Regions from separate parts of the Homo sapiens genome. Here region 1 is linked to region 2. Evidence: promoter capture Hi-C in 16 types of primary human blood cells and fetal thymus (Javierre and others, 2016). All regions are on one chromosome and are shown on one strand. Each heading gives the region's core, a stretch centred on a gene start or on the middle of the fragment in contact. The rest is flanking DNA. Distances are from core to core; before and after follow the strand shown. Region 1 overlaps LOC107985960 (a long non-coding RNA gene). Region 2 holds the start of ITGA6-AS1 (ITGA6 and PDK1 antisense RNA 1).

What was found. The method cuts DNA at HindIII sites, captures the fragments that hold promoters and counts their contacts. A CHiCAGO score of 5 or more calls a contact.
Region 1: a contact is called between a fragment that was not itself captured here and the fragment with the promoter of ITGA6-AS1 in region 2, in 5 of 17 cell types (megakaryocytes, endothelial precursors, M2 macrophages and 2 more). The highest score is 11.6, in megakaryocytes.

Annotation. Positions count from the first base shown.
Region 1 is chr2:172,282,118-172,288,663 of GRCh38, forward strand. All of the region lies in intron 2 of LOC107985960 (a long non-coding RNA gene), which reads left to right. Among named protein-coding and RNA genes, the nearest start is that of ITGA6, 140 kb to the right of the region's middle. The HindIII fragment of the contact is 4,651 bases long and covers 1,307-5,957 here.
Region 2 is chr2:172,460,247-172,467,336 of GRCh38, forward strand. ITGA6-AS1 (ITGA6 and PDK1 antisense RNA 1) reads right to left here and starts at 5,776. Exons shown (of 2, transcript NR_157573.1): 1 at 5,578-5,776; 2 at 4,016-4,328. It overlaps ITGA6 (integrin subunit alpha 6), which reads left to right. Exons shown (of 26, transcript NM_000210.4): 2 at 5,293-5,417. PDK1-AS1 (PDK1 and ITGA6 antisense RNA 1) reads right to left here. Exons shown (of 4, transcript NR_199657.1): 4 at 4,020-4,328. RefSeq lists an enhancer at 6,017-6,186. The HindIII fragment of the contact is 13,641 bases long and covers 1-7,090 here.

The DNA of each region.
Region 1 (6,546 bases), core at 2,382-4,881, 180 kb before region 2:
AGATGGTACTGCCTACTATACACCTGGGCTGTGTGGTATAGCCTATTGCTCCTAGGCTATAAAACTGTACAGCATGTTACTGTACTGAATATACCATAGGCAGTTGTAACACAATGATCAGTATTTGTGTATCTAAACATAGAGAAGGTTATGGTATAAAAGATAAAAAATGATATACTTGTAAGGACACTTACCATAAGTGGAGCTTACAGGACTGGAAGTTGCTCTGGGTGAGTCAGTGAGTAAGTGGTGAGTGATTGTGAGGGCCTGGGACATTACTGTACATTACTGTAGACTTTATAAACACAGCACACTCAGGCTACACTAAATTCATTTTACTTTTTTTGAGACAGTCTCACTCTGTCATTCAGGCTGGAGTGCAGTGGCATGATCTTCGCTCACTGCAACCTCTGCCTCCTGGGTTCAAGTGATTCTCCTGCCTCAGCCTCCCTAGTAGCTGGGCTTACAGTTGCCCACCACCATGCCTGGCTAATTTTTGTATTTTTAGTAGAAATGAGCTTTCACCATGTTGGCCAGGCTGGTCTCAAACTCTTGACCTCAAGTGATCCGCCTGCCTTGGCCTCCCAAAGTGCTGGGATTAGAGGCGTGAGCCACTGTGCCTGGCTTAAATTTATTTTAAAACTCTTCTTTCTTCAATAATAAATTAACCTTAGCTTACTGTAACTTTTTCACTTTATAAGCTTTTTAATGTTTTTAACTTCTTTTGGAATAACACTTAGCTTTAAACACAAAGGCATTATACAGCTATGCAAAAATATTTTCTTTATATCCTTATTCTATACATTTTTTTCATTAAATTTTATTATTATTATTTTTACTTTTAAACTTTTTTGTTAAAAACTAAGACAACTACACACACATTAGCCCGGGCTTAATCATCGGGGTCAGGATCATCAATATGTCATCAGGGGATAGGAATTTTCCAGCTCTATTCTAATCCTATGGCATCACCATCATACATGCAGTCTGTTGTTGCCTGATGTCACTGTGTGGCACATGACTGCAGGGGGTGTGGGAAGCCCATTTCTGAGTCAGTTAGAAGGCATATATATTTTCTTCCTTTGCCGTCACTTTACGTTTGTAATTCTGAGGCTCTCTACACGGTTCACTTGGGACTGTATGTTAAGGCTGCTGTTAACTATAAAACAGGTTAAACTGTATTTCAGAGTAGGCATAATTAATGAGGGTGTTATTTCAGGAACAATGATAGGGATTGTGAATAGTCAAGATTCATTCTAGAATGAGCAAGAAATTTGCTGGAAAAAAGAGGTGTAATGAAAAAGGAAGCTTCTTTCTATTTCTGATGAGGAGCTTGGTATGTCTGTAGTTTGATTTTGTAACAATTGTTTTCCCTGAAGTAATTTGGATGCTGCATTAGTCTGATTATTATGATTTCCTGTTTAGAACCCAGATACCTTCTCGATATGTCCCCAATAGCATATTTCTGGAAATGACTTCAACCAATTACATTAGCTCTCATTCCCTTGGTTTCTATGTGGTTGACCAGACAGGAATCAGGCTGCCTGAGTGTGCAATCCAGATAGCAAGAGGCAGTCGGTAGAGAGAGTGTGAAATTGCCCTGAGATACTGTGTGGTCTGCAGGCGGGTCCAAGTGAAGGAATGTGATGCAGCTGAGGCCTCGGGGGTGGGGCCGGGGGGCATATTTTTGATGTCTGAAATATCTTGACCAACTGGCCTTTCAGGGATAATTTTGATGACCATGTTTCATCTGGTGCCGAGTCTACTTCTGGTGCTTGACTCATGAAGGTATCAGTGATGACAAGGATAATGAAATTTATCTTCAAACCTACTCCCCTTAAATGTAGTAGATGTAAGCACTGGGACAAATCTGAAAAGAGTCTTCAGCATCTCCTTAAGGTTACTACTATTATGGATAATAGTGCTGTATCATTTACAAAACCATAGCCATATTGTGCAGCAGGTATTATTATTCCTGTTTTACAGATGTGTAAACTGAGGCACAGAGAGGTTCAGGGATATACTAATGTTGCCTACCGAGTGAGCAGTGGAGGTGGGATTTGACCCCAGTTGCCTGAATCCAAATCATCCCGTTCCCATCTTCTCCCCTAATGATGTCATGCCCCATGCTGCATCGGTGGAGGGGTTTTATGGGAGAGTGACAGGAGCCTTCAGCTCCTTCTGTGGTACCCCTTGCACTCTGTGAATCCACCAAGGGAGGAGAACACTCCAAGACTGCCCCAAAGGGGTATGTGCCCTCGCCTGCGCAGATGCTGGCTGTCAGAGGACTGAGGAATTTCCCCAGGGGGAGATTTTCCCAACCACTACATTAACCTGTTCAAAGATCCTGTCCAGCTCTGCAAGATTAGCTGAGATCTGAGGCATTTAGCATGGAAAGAACACATTCTTCTAAAGAGTCATTTCAGCCATTCTACCTATGCACATCTGAGTTTAAAAAAGGAGAGAAAGAGGGCAAACCTACTTCAAAGTGGCCTATTTGGCAGTTGACCATTGGAAGGCTAATGATAATGACAAAAACTGAAAACAGGAGGCACTCTCTTATGGTGTCTTGTCCTCTAGATATGCATAAGATATGCAAAGGCACTGTGGAACTCGATGAAACACTCAGCCTGCAAGAGTGCAGTGGGGAACAAAATACTCAGAAAGTAGAGACTGTTTTATTTATGGGATGGGGTCTCACTTTGTTCCCCAGGCTGGAGTGCAGCGGTGCAATCATAGCTCACTGTAGCCTTGAACTCCTGGGCTCAAGTGATTCTCCTACACCAGCCTCCTGAGTAGCTAGGACTACAGTGCATACCACCATGGCCACTAATTTTTTAATAAATATTTTGTAGAGACAGGGTCCTGCTCTATTGTCTAGACTGGCTTCAAACTCCTGGCCTCAAGCGATCCTCCTGCCTCAGCTTGGTTGCTGAGGCAACAGGGGCACGACACTGGTCTTGGCCAACATTTTAAACTTTATTTGGCAAAACCAATTCTTTTGCTACTTCCCTACTGCACTCAGGATGGGGACACAGGAGCTGGGAGAAATTTCACCAAGAAAGAAGTGGTTATGTACAGCACAGACAATAGGCTGGCAGGTTTCATTTCCCCCCAGTCCTATAAAAGAAAGCATGTAACTTGAAACCAGTTTAATGAAGTAACTCCAGGATTCCAGTAGCTGGTTACTCTGGGCCAGAAAGCCTGGAACCACCAAGATTCCTAAGGATGTGGTGGACAGGGGCTGGGCACCCACGAGGCTGCAGCAGCTGTCAGCCATTATCCCTAAAATAATGCTCTTCCAGGCCTGGGAGCACAGAGGCCTTTGAGAAGGTCAGTGAGTGCGGCTGCCAGTCACAGCTTCAGTGGCTTTGCACAGCTGGGCTCCATTCTGGAATCTGGAATCCTCAGTGCAAACTGTCAGGGCTACGTGTCTGTGCTGGGCCTGCTGAGAGGCAAAATGAGTCCTTTGGGATTTGAAATCTAGCAGTTTTGGATTAGGTGAGACTAAGAGTTCTCTGGATTTAGCTGAGTCCAAGGTGCTTATTTGTGGGCAAGAAGTTCTCCCTTCCAGTGAATGAAACCTGTGCAGTGCCCCTATCCTGCTCTTCCACAGGGGCACAAAAGGCTGCTGGCACAACATGCTGTTGGTGTGGGTGAGGTCGGGTAGTTTGGAGTCAGATCAGCCTGGTTTCAAATCCTGCTGTCCCTCCACTTCTGTGATCTCTGCAAATTACTTGTTTTGCACTATTGTTTCTTTCCTTCCTTCCTTTTGATCTCCGCAAATCACTTAACTTTTTTTTGAACTACTGTTTGGTTTAGTTTCCTTCCTTCCTTCCTTGCTCTCTCTCTCTCATTCTCTCGCTCTCGCTCTGTCTCTCTCTCTCTCGTCTCACTCTTCACCCAGGCTGGAGCGCAGTGGCATGATCTTGGTTCACTGCAACCTCCTCCTCCCAGGTTCAAGCGATTCTTATGCCTCAGCTGCCCCTCCAACACAACGGCTGGTTAATTTTTGTATTTCAGTAGAGACGGGGTTTGACCATGTTGGCCAGGCTGGTCTGGAAATCCCAACCTCAAGTGATCTGCCCGCCTCAGCCTCCCAAAGTGCTGGAATTACAGGCGTGAGCGACCGCACCCGGCTGATCAGGTTTATATTCTGTAAATGGGATGCCTTCTAATTATTTCTTGTAAACTGTGGAATGACTGAACTGATCTTAACATTTCAGTTAACCAACGCAACAAGTAATGCAGCTGTGTGATTTTGAGACAAGTTACTTAGCCCCTCTGTGCCTCAGTTTCCTTATCTGTTCATAAAACAAGTATATTAGACTAGAGATTATTTTCATTCCTAAATTTTGTGATGTTATAGGGCTGTTCCTGAGTGAAATTTCACAGAGGAAAGGATGTACCTCTCAATGGCTGCCATAGCTCATATTGTGGCTTTTATGTTTGAAAAGAGACTTTCATTTTGGAAGGTGGGCGTGGTGGTTGTGATGTCCTGCAGTTTGAAGGAACAAGGCTAACAATCAGAGGGCCTGAATTAGGTACTGGCTCCACTATTTAGTGGCCGGAAAACCTTACAGGCAGAATCATTCCCTGGAAATAAAGCTCCCCTGGATACTATCTGTTCTGTATGAGCATCTGTTCCTCTCCCATGAAATGGACATAACTGTCAGTACCTTATCTGTTGACTTCCCAAGGTGGAGTGAGAATCACATTAAATCATTTACTCAGTCAGCTTGCACTATGCAGAAGATTTTTGGCATTTTGGTGGTATAAACCATAGGTGTGCATATAGCTCAAAAGATTCTATGCTGTGATTCTAATGAACTCTCAAACTCTTTAGATCCCAATTTTACACTGGAGCAGTGACCGTGCTTCTTGGCTGATCTCTTGGCTCTCCCTCTCCTCCATGTCCTTCCTCTACCTTCTAAAGGACGAACTGTTCATGGCTTAATAGCAACCACAGTCTACAATTTATATTCCAGAACTTTTCTCGCTTGCTAAGAAATAACTTCCATTGTTTCTATAACAAGGGAAGTAAGCAAATGACTTGAGGGGCACAGAGGTGAGTTCTGAGTTAAGTATAGGCCTGCCAGGAGTTGGCTTTCCATGAGCAAAACCCAAATTTTCATTCAGATAGAGTATTAGCTCAGAAATCAGAACACCTACTGATCCTCAGTAGGCAACATGAATTAGGCATAAATAAATAAATAAATAGGCTGATTTATTGTTCCTTGACAATGTGGTTTAATTTTTAAATCAAAAGGAAATAATGACTATTTCAAACTAAATGTATGGACTCTTCCTGTTTTTTCCCTCTGATATAAAATTCCATAGGTCTTACTCATTCTTTTTTTTTGTTTAATTTAGCATCCAACCTTTATTTTTATTTTTTTGCTTTAGAACCTTTTTTTTCATGTATACTTTAAGTTTTAGGGTACATGTATACAGGTCTTACTCATTCTTATTGGTGATCCAATTTGAAGTACCAATAGATTAAATGATTTTCCTAAACTGGTGAGTGTCTCTCACAAAATCCATCAGAGCTGGGGCCTGATCCCTGGGCTCTGTTCCTAATGACCATCCTACATGTCTCTATAAATAGACCATTATCAAATGGTTTTTACCGAGCTTGGATTGGATGACAATCATGACTCTCAATTTTCCTTCCTTCCCTCTCATCTGATTTTAAATTATCTCTGACAGTCAGGATGTGATAAATCTACTGTGTTCAGAGTTCGGAGTTCTGAACACAATTTTCCAACATAAGGAAGGCTAGAAATACATATTTGAGACAAAACATGGAAATCCTACCAACTGCTGGTGAATTCCCTTTGAGTTTCTCTCTTCCCTTTCAGGAAATGTTCCTTGGGTCTCCTGTCCTTGTTAGCACCAGCTTCTCCGGTCTGGTTCCAAATCATCACCTTGGCAACATCACTTCCCACGGTCCACAAAGCTTTGGACAGCCAGTCTCTATTTTGCCTTTATCGCCTATATGTTGGCCAGTAGGGTAGAGAAGTCCATGACCTTGCTCATCCCAGCTTTGTTTTGTCCAAACTCTTTTGTGCAAAGAGGAAAACCAGGATTTTAAATCATGCACTGGGCTGTGCTGACACGGTGCCCAGCAAAATAAATCACAACCCCTTTATTTTAGAGCAGCTGGAAATGGACACTTTTAATGGACAGGGGAGTCTGGCCAAAACAGGACTGGGATGAGACAGGATCATCATTTTAGAATGCTGATTTTGCAGGGAGAATGTCACTTCTCTGTTTTTATACATCCTGAGTTTTCTTCCCTTATAGGCAGCTGCTGAGCTGAAGGTGTTTCTGCAGCAAGCGTCCCACTCTCATCTGCATGCTGACTACACAGACTGGGCAAAGTCTGTATCTTTCCAGTCTGTGTGCACACAGGCTAATTTGTCATTAGCTCTGCAAAAGTCATGAGAGGAGGTTTAATTTAATAAATTAAAATATAATCCCCAAACACAAGTTTATAACCAACACTTTCATGTGCATTGAGCAAGGCTTTTTCACTTAGTTGTA
Region 2 (7,090 bases), core at 4,526-7,025:
GTAATAGGTCCTGTAAGTGTAAAGGTGTAGCTGGTAGATAGCAAGACATGGAGAAACTAAGAGGAAAGTTTGGAAGGAAGAATCCAAATGCTCATAGCTTTGTCTCACTAACTAGGGAATCAAGATTTCTGTCAAAAGTTGAAGGGAAAATAGAGGTTTAAATCTTTAAAACTCAGAGTAGCAAATAGAGGAACTAAATCTAGTTATTAAACATAGGATGGGAGGTGGCAGTTTGTTCTTTCCTTTTCATATTATGGGGCCAACAGTTATTGCCTAAAGCTGATAAATCAATACATATATAATAATCCAGAATTATGGAGAAGTAAATCCAGAATGAAAAGTAAGAGGTTTGTCCGGAGTGTGGGGCTTGGGATGAGTTTGGAATCTGTTGCTTTCTACCGTTAAGTCTTTTATTTTTTGATTTCCTATCATTTGTACTTATTACTTTAGCAAAAATTAAATTCTGAGTTTGAAAATGGGTTAAATGTAAAGGTGACACAATTGCCACATAATGCTACTTTCTAACTTTTTAGGTCTTAATTTGGACAAACTAAGCAGGCTGTGTTTTAAATTAAGCAATAATAGTGTTCTTGTTCTAATGGTGCAATATTTCATGTTTCCTCTGACCAGCTTGCATAGCTAGGGGCAGAATCTTTAATCCTTGAGGAAATGAATTATTGCCAAAGACAGTGAAGCAAAGCTGCCATTGTTCTTGGAGTTTTAAAAGTGTCCCAGTGTTTAGAACTTTTGATTTGAAGTATTTATGCAAAAGTATACCAGCTCTCTTTGGGGGAGAACTTGAATATATGAAACGGATGTGGCTTACTTGAAGAATTTTGAAATAACCTTGTGTTCATAGCATGATAGTGAGTCCTGAGTCTCTGTGCCCAGAGCTCTGATTAGACTCCAAAGACCTGAATTTATATCATATTCCCAGTTACTGTTATACTTATATCGTTAGATTTTTACATTCCATTTTAGTATCTCAGTGTTTATTTCTTATCGTTAAAGATGATTTTGTGGTTTTGAGTTTTGCCTTTTAAGTGTGGGTTTCTGATATGCTGAAATCCCAAGGCAGTTTTTATTTCGGTGCAGCTTTAAAATTCAGTGGAGGTCATTGTCCACTGGCCGGTTTTGAAATGATCTTAGTTCACACCCAGATTCTTGCCCTTTGTTTAGTTTTTCTTGCCTTGACCGCATATGGGAATAGACCTCTCAGGCTCTGCTCTGTTAATTTCTATCACCTCCCTACAAAGGCCCTAACTCATATCCCTTGGTCCCTGTGGCTCTGAAGGTCGAGTTGTCACATAGCTCTTTCCTCCTTCAAACGTACTGGGATGGTCAGTAATGAGTGCTGCAGCTGCCCTGGTCCTAGGAGTTGCTGTGAGCATCCTGGTAGTGCCCAGAGAGTACCTGCTTTTCACACTGAACCATCTGGGTGGCCTGGGCCCAGTTTTTGGCATTTAAGGGCCTTGGAGGGAAAGGGAAGAAAGCTGGAATTTGAGCATAAATTGGATTTTGTGTGGGCTGAGGGTCCTCCTAGGTGTAGACTGTCCCTCCTGGACCTGTACCCACTCTGCTAGCTCAGGAGCCAACCATGTCCTGAACAGCTTAGACCAGCACCCAGACCCTAAATGACCTAGATTAGGAAGTAGATAGGTTGTTCTCTGCTGTCATTGTTTGGACACAGCTCTATTTACCTTATTTATTGTTCCTGCTAGGCACAGCCTCAGCTAATGGGCTGTGATCTCCTGCCTTTAAGGCTGGTTCCAGGCGAATTAAGAGCCTTTGCTTGTTTCCCAAACCAGGGAGGGCAGCTTTACCTTGAGGATGAAGGCGCCTCCAGTTGCTGAATGTGGTTGGGGTTACTGTGTTCTCTCATCAAGGTGTAGCTTTACCTTACCTTTCGGTGATGGGTTCTGCCACCTTATCGCGGTGGGTCCCAGGAGACCGGGCGCAACTGGAGCAGGGGCGCCCTCTGCTGCTGGGTGTCAGCTCTTCCTCCCACGGCTGCCCAGGGGATTTGCAAGGGGCGGTGGAACACTCCTGCTTCCTCCATCCCCTGTGGGACCACCTGAGGTGGAGGAAGGACAGTGCCAGGACCATGTGCAGGCTGAGCTCGCCCAGAGGCGGTGCAACAGCTAACGTTATTCTCTGTGGGTACATTTCTCTTGTCGTTTGCAGGTCTCTTTTCGAATCTGTTGTCCTTTTTCCCCAAACCAGCCTGCTGCCCCCATCCTGCCATGTGGTCTGCTGTCATCTGCAGTAGCCGCCGCATGTAAGACACGAGGACCTCTTCTGCAAGAGCTTGGTGTGGGCATTTGTGAAATTTTGTCACCACAGCCCCTGTAACCAGCCAACAAATTCGAGTTAAATGCCTATTCTTTGTCCCACACGTATTAGTTACAGAGAGTGGAGAACAAGTGGCAGATAGAGGCTGAGGGAAGCCAACCCACTCTGAGGGACTGGGCATGTAAATGGGACAACCTCCACAGCTTTTTAAACCACAGGACACCCAAAAGCAGCTGTACCCTGCAGGACACAGCAGGCTACAGAAGCCTGGGGTTCAGAGGGTCTCTGACCCTTCGTCCTTTAGCGCTGCTGACCAGGCTGCTGATCCTCGACCCCTTCTTGTCACCCATTGTGTCCCTCTTCTCCCTTTTCTCTGGCTCCTTCCCTTGCAGCCTTTGCATATGCTGTGTTCCTTACCTGGCCACCTCCAGTCCCGCTGTCATCTCTTAGTGACATCCTCCCTTCCTCTCCAGCAGGTGCTGGTGCCCACAGCACTCTGTACCATCCTCTCATTGCCTCTAGCTCCCTGTGGTTTCATGACCTCATGACCTGTTCACGGATCAGGCTTCCCCAGGCCAGAGATTGAGGAGTGGGGGCAATTCCTTATTCATCCTAGGAGGCTCTTAATCAGCGTTTGTTGAGTGAATAGGTGAACGAATGTGGGAATGGGATAAACAGGAAATAAGCCCTGTGCCTGCCTTAGGTAACTTAGTAGCCACCTTGGGTGTGGGTGAGAAGAGGAAGTGGTTAGGAAGACACACAGTTAAGACAATGGGACTCCTGTGCTGCTTTTTCTAGGCTTCTCTTTGCTGGTGGTTACCTTTACAGGAAATCTCTTACCCAGCCTTCACTCCACCCAACTGCAATAATGCTTTTCTTCCTTCCCCTCTACTTGGCTCTATTATCTTAACTTTTATCAGCATACAGAACAGTTTTGGTTGTGATGTTTTATTTGTGTAAGTTTTGCCCTTTCAACTAGGTTGTAAACTTGAAATCCTGGGTTTTACTTCCTAAGCAGCTTTGTAAAGAAATGGAGACAACATTGCACCAAGATAATTTTTGTCATGGCCACCCACTAGCTGTGAGATCTTGGGGGATGAGTAATTAAGCTCCTCAAGGCCTCTGTTTCTTTATCTGTAAAACTGGAGGACTGGTCTCTCTCAGGGGCTTCCAGTGTGAAAGTCCTGGGGTTCTGGGCCTCTGATCCTGGCACCCCACTTATCCCTTCCAGCACCCTCCACATGACTCCACCTCTGACATCTGCCAAGTACAGTAATTTAACACATTCACCTTATAGTCTAGGCAGTTCACCTCCCAGGTACTTGTTTGTTGGCATTCCTGGGATCGGGGACATCACTGGAATAGGAGTGGAGCAGACCTGTGGGGACCCTTGTGGCCCCGGCCTTGCCTCTGTCCTCTGTCAAGAAGGTTCAGGCACCAAGGACACTGCTCCAGTTCCTAATTTAAAAGTCTGTGTGTCAGTTCTGTACCTTGGTGTGTGCTGTTTTGTTCCTTCAAATGTAGGGTGGGTTTGGAGGTGGGGGCTGACTGTGACTGTCCAGGGATCTGGGAGGAAGGACAGTGCTGGGGCTATGTGTTATCCATGAGCCACCCCTCCTTCTCTGTCTGGGCATCATCTGGCCCCCCTCCCTGCTTTCCAGGTACACTTGCCTCCGGTGGCACCTGCTGCATGATATTGGTTTAAAAAAAATATGTTGAATCCTTTATTGGAATGATTCCTTTATTGGGACCCAACAGGCATGAAGGTAATAGAGACTATTTGGTTTGTATTTTCATTTGTTTTGCTTTTGCTTCTGAGATTTGTGGGTTTCTTGATGGCCAGGAGTGGCTTGTTTTCTGTTGTAAGAATTTGTTGTTTGTACAGGTTCGTGTTCCCAGTCCTTTTCCTCAGCTCCAGCCTTGTTTCCAAAACTCTCAGCTCTTGGTTTATCTCTGTCCAGTCAGGTGTGTGTTCTTTGTCTTTGTTTCTTGTCCTAGTTGTTCCATGAGTCAGCCAGGCCTCAAAGATTGTAAACCTGATGGTGAGTAAAGGTGTTAGCAAAAGAGACCTAGCAACAAGGTCATTGGATCTCTAAAGAGCCTGTCAAGCTGTGAGATGGTGAAATTTTAAGGACTGTGGATTTGGACTGGGGGCCTCCTTATAGGAGATAAAAACACTCGGCTGGGGAGAAGAAGGAATATTACAGTGCCTAGTACATAAGTGGAGCTACACCAGTTGTCCCTGAATCCTTTGTGGGAGACTGATAGGATGAGAGAGGACGAACTCTTGTAATGTGACAAAAGTGCAAGGAAGTAAGAACTGACTTGGAAGAACAAACATCAACTTGTACACCTCAAATATATCTGCTTTTTATTTGTCCATTCTACCCTAATAAAACTGGAGGGAAAAAAAAAAAAGAATTGGAAAGAGGCCAAGGCTGCAAGTGAATAATTCAGTCGAGTTGTATCTTACTTACCATTAGGTTCTCTCAATTAGTATATAAACTGAAAATCTAAGATATAGTCAGAATTACCCTTGAAAACTACCTCAGGAAGGCACAGTGTTAGAAACTGACATATTATTGCTTATTACATTTAGTGTGGCCATTTTTTCCTTCCATTGTCACAAGTATTTGGTTTCTTCTCTTGAGTTTCATATGATATCCCTGGCATCATAGGGGCTTAGAGGTTGTATTCTTTGAAGAGGGTGTCTTTTAAACACCAGATCATACCCAGCAAGAAATGCTGATACTATGAGAGACAGGCCTATTTTCCTCGTTTTGGTATCCCCTCTTTGGCTTCCCCTGTTTAGTTGTGTTTGTGCGTTTTGCATGAACCAGCCATAGGACTCTACATTTGTTCTCACTCACTGCCTAAGCTGTTGAAGAATTAGTGGACTCCTAGACAAAGAATAATCCCACTATCTCCTAGTTCTGACTGATTTAACTGTTAAACGTATATTAAATTCAAATCTCCAAATTGTCTCTGTTTCATCAACAGGTTGCTCGTGGGGGCCCCGCGGGCAGAAGCGCTTCCACTGCAGAGAGCCAACAGAACGGGAGGGCTGTACAGCTGCGACATCACCGCCCGGGGGCCATGCACGCGGATCGAGTTTGATAACGATGGTGCGTTCCTTTCCCTCACTCAGCGTTCACTCCGGCAGCTTGCCTGTACTGTTTCCATGAGGGAGGAGAGTGGGGACAAACATTTATTCTTGTAGAGAGGACTTCTTTTAATTGCATCAGACTTGACTGTTTTTTATTTGCCCTGAAAATATTTACTTACTTTACTTCTGAATCATACTGGGATGCCGCGTGTTTTGCTGCTCCTCCTAACCGTGGTTTCTAAACCGATATGGTGTAGGGATGTTGCCACCTAGTGATGTGTTGAGGTTCTGCAGGAGGTTGTGGAAAAACTCATTTCATAGCAATGAAGAGAATGAATGAGCGTATCTTGTATTCATCAGCCAAAAGTTCTCACATGCTGTTAAAATATTTGGGAGAAAGACAGTTTTAAATATCAGACCCCTTTGGAATGAGAGCTGGCTAACAGAGATAAAGTTTTCCCTCCTGTCTCAGATAGAGACTTGTTTTGTTAAGGGCTCTGGATAGGTAGAAGATACCATGAGGTAGGCATGTTGACATCCAGTGTACCTGGCTTCTTGTAGGTTGAGCAGAGCAATTAGTGTACTGAGAAGCTCTAGCCAAACCTCGTTTGATATGTTCGGTCTAAGTAGATTTGCAGATTCGTGTCTATGTTCTTCTCTTGCTTCTTCATCTTTTAGAAATAACATTTGTTGGCCAGGCGTCGGTGGCTCACACCTGTAATCCTAGCATTTTGGGAGGCCGAGTTGGGTGGATCATTTGAGGTCAGGAGTTCAAGACCAGCCTGGCCAACATGGTGAAACCCCATCTCTACTAAAAATACAAAAATTAGCCAGGCGTGGTGGTGTACGCCTGTAGTCCTAGCTACTTAGGAGGCTGAGGCGTGAGAATTGTTTGAACCTGGGAGGCAGAGGCTGCAGTGAGCCAAAATCGTGCCACTACACTCCAGCCTGGGTGACAGAGCAAGATACCATCTCAAGAAAAGAAATAACATGTGTTCTTTTATTAGAAACTAATATGTGTTAATTTTAAGAAGCTGGTAAAATACACAGACCTATGAAGAATAAAAAAACCCACTGGCAATCTCAGTATCTAGACTTATTTTTTAACATTTTGGCATTTTTCCTTCTGTCTAAAGTTGTTTAATGTTTTTGTAATGATTCAAGATTAAAACCTGTGTCTGTATTGCTACTTATGGAGGAGTGCAAAATTTGGATATAGGTCACACAGTGGGTTTAAATTGATACTGAAATGAGCACCTGGTGGTGTTTGTGGTCCCCGTCTCTCTGACTAACAGTAACTCTCCTGTTTGGCATTGATACATTGTCAGCTACAAGATCCTAAAGTAAATCTGAGTCTTTTTCTTCCATCTCCAGTAAAGAAGAGAACATTTAATGCTGTTAAATAAAAAAATTGGGGAGTATATAGAGAAGTACCCATTTTTTTTGTTAGTTTGGATGGTAGCTGCAGTTTGGAATACTAGATTTTACATTGTTGCCTTAAGAGATGTATTTTGGAGGGCTCCCTTAGTCTTACAGTTTCACTTACCTTCTGCATTCAGGACCCTAGGTATCAAGAGAGGGCAAAGGGTATTGTTGGACAAAATAGGCAACTATATAGAGCTAAGTACTTTATGTTTCAAATGTTTGAAAGATTCCAAAAACCACATCTCTGTTTCCTTGAGATGACAAGTA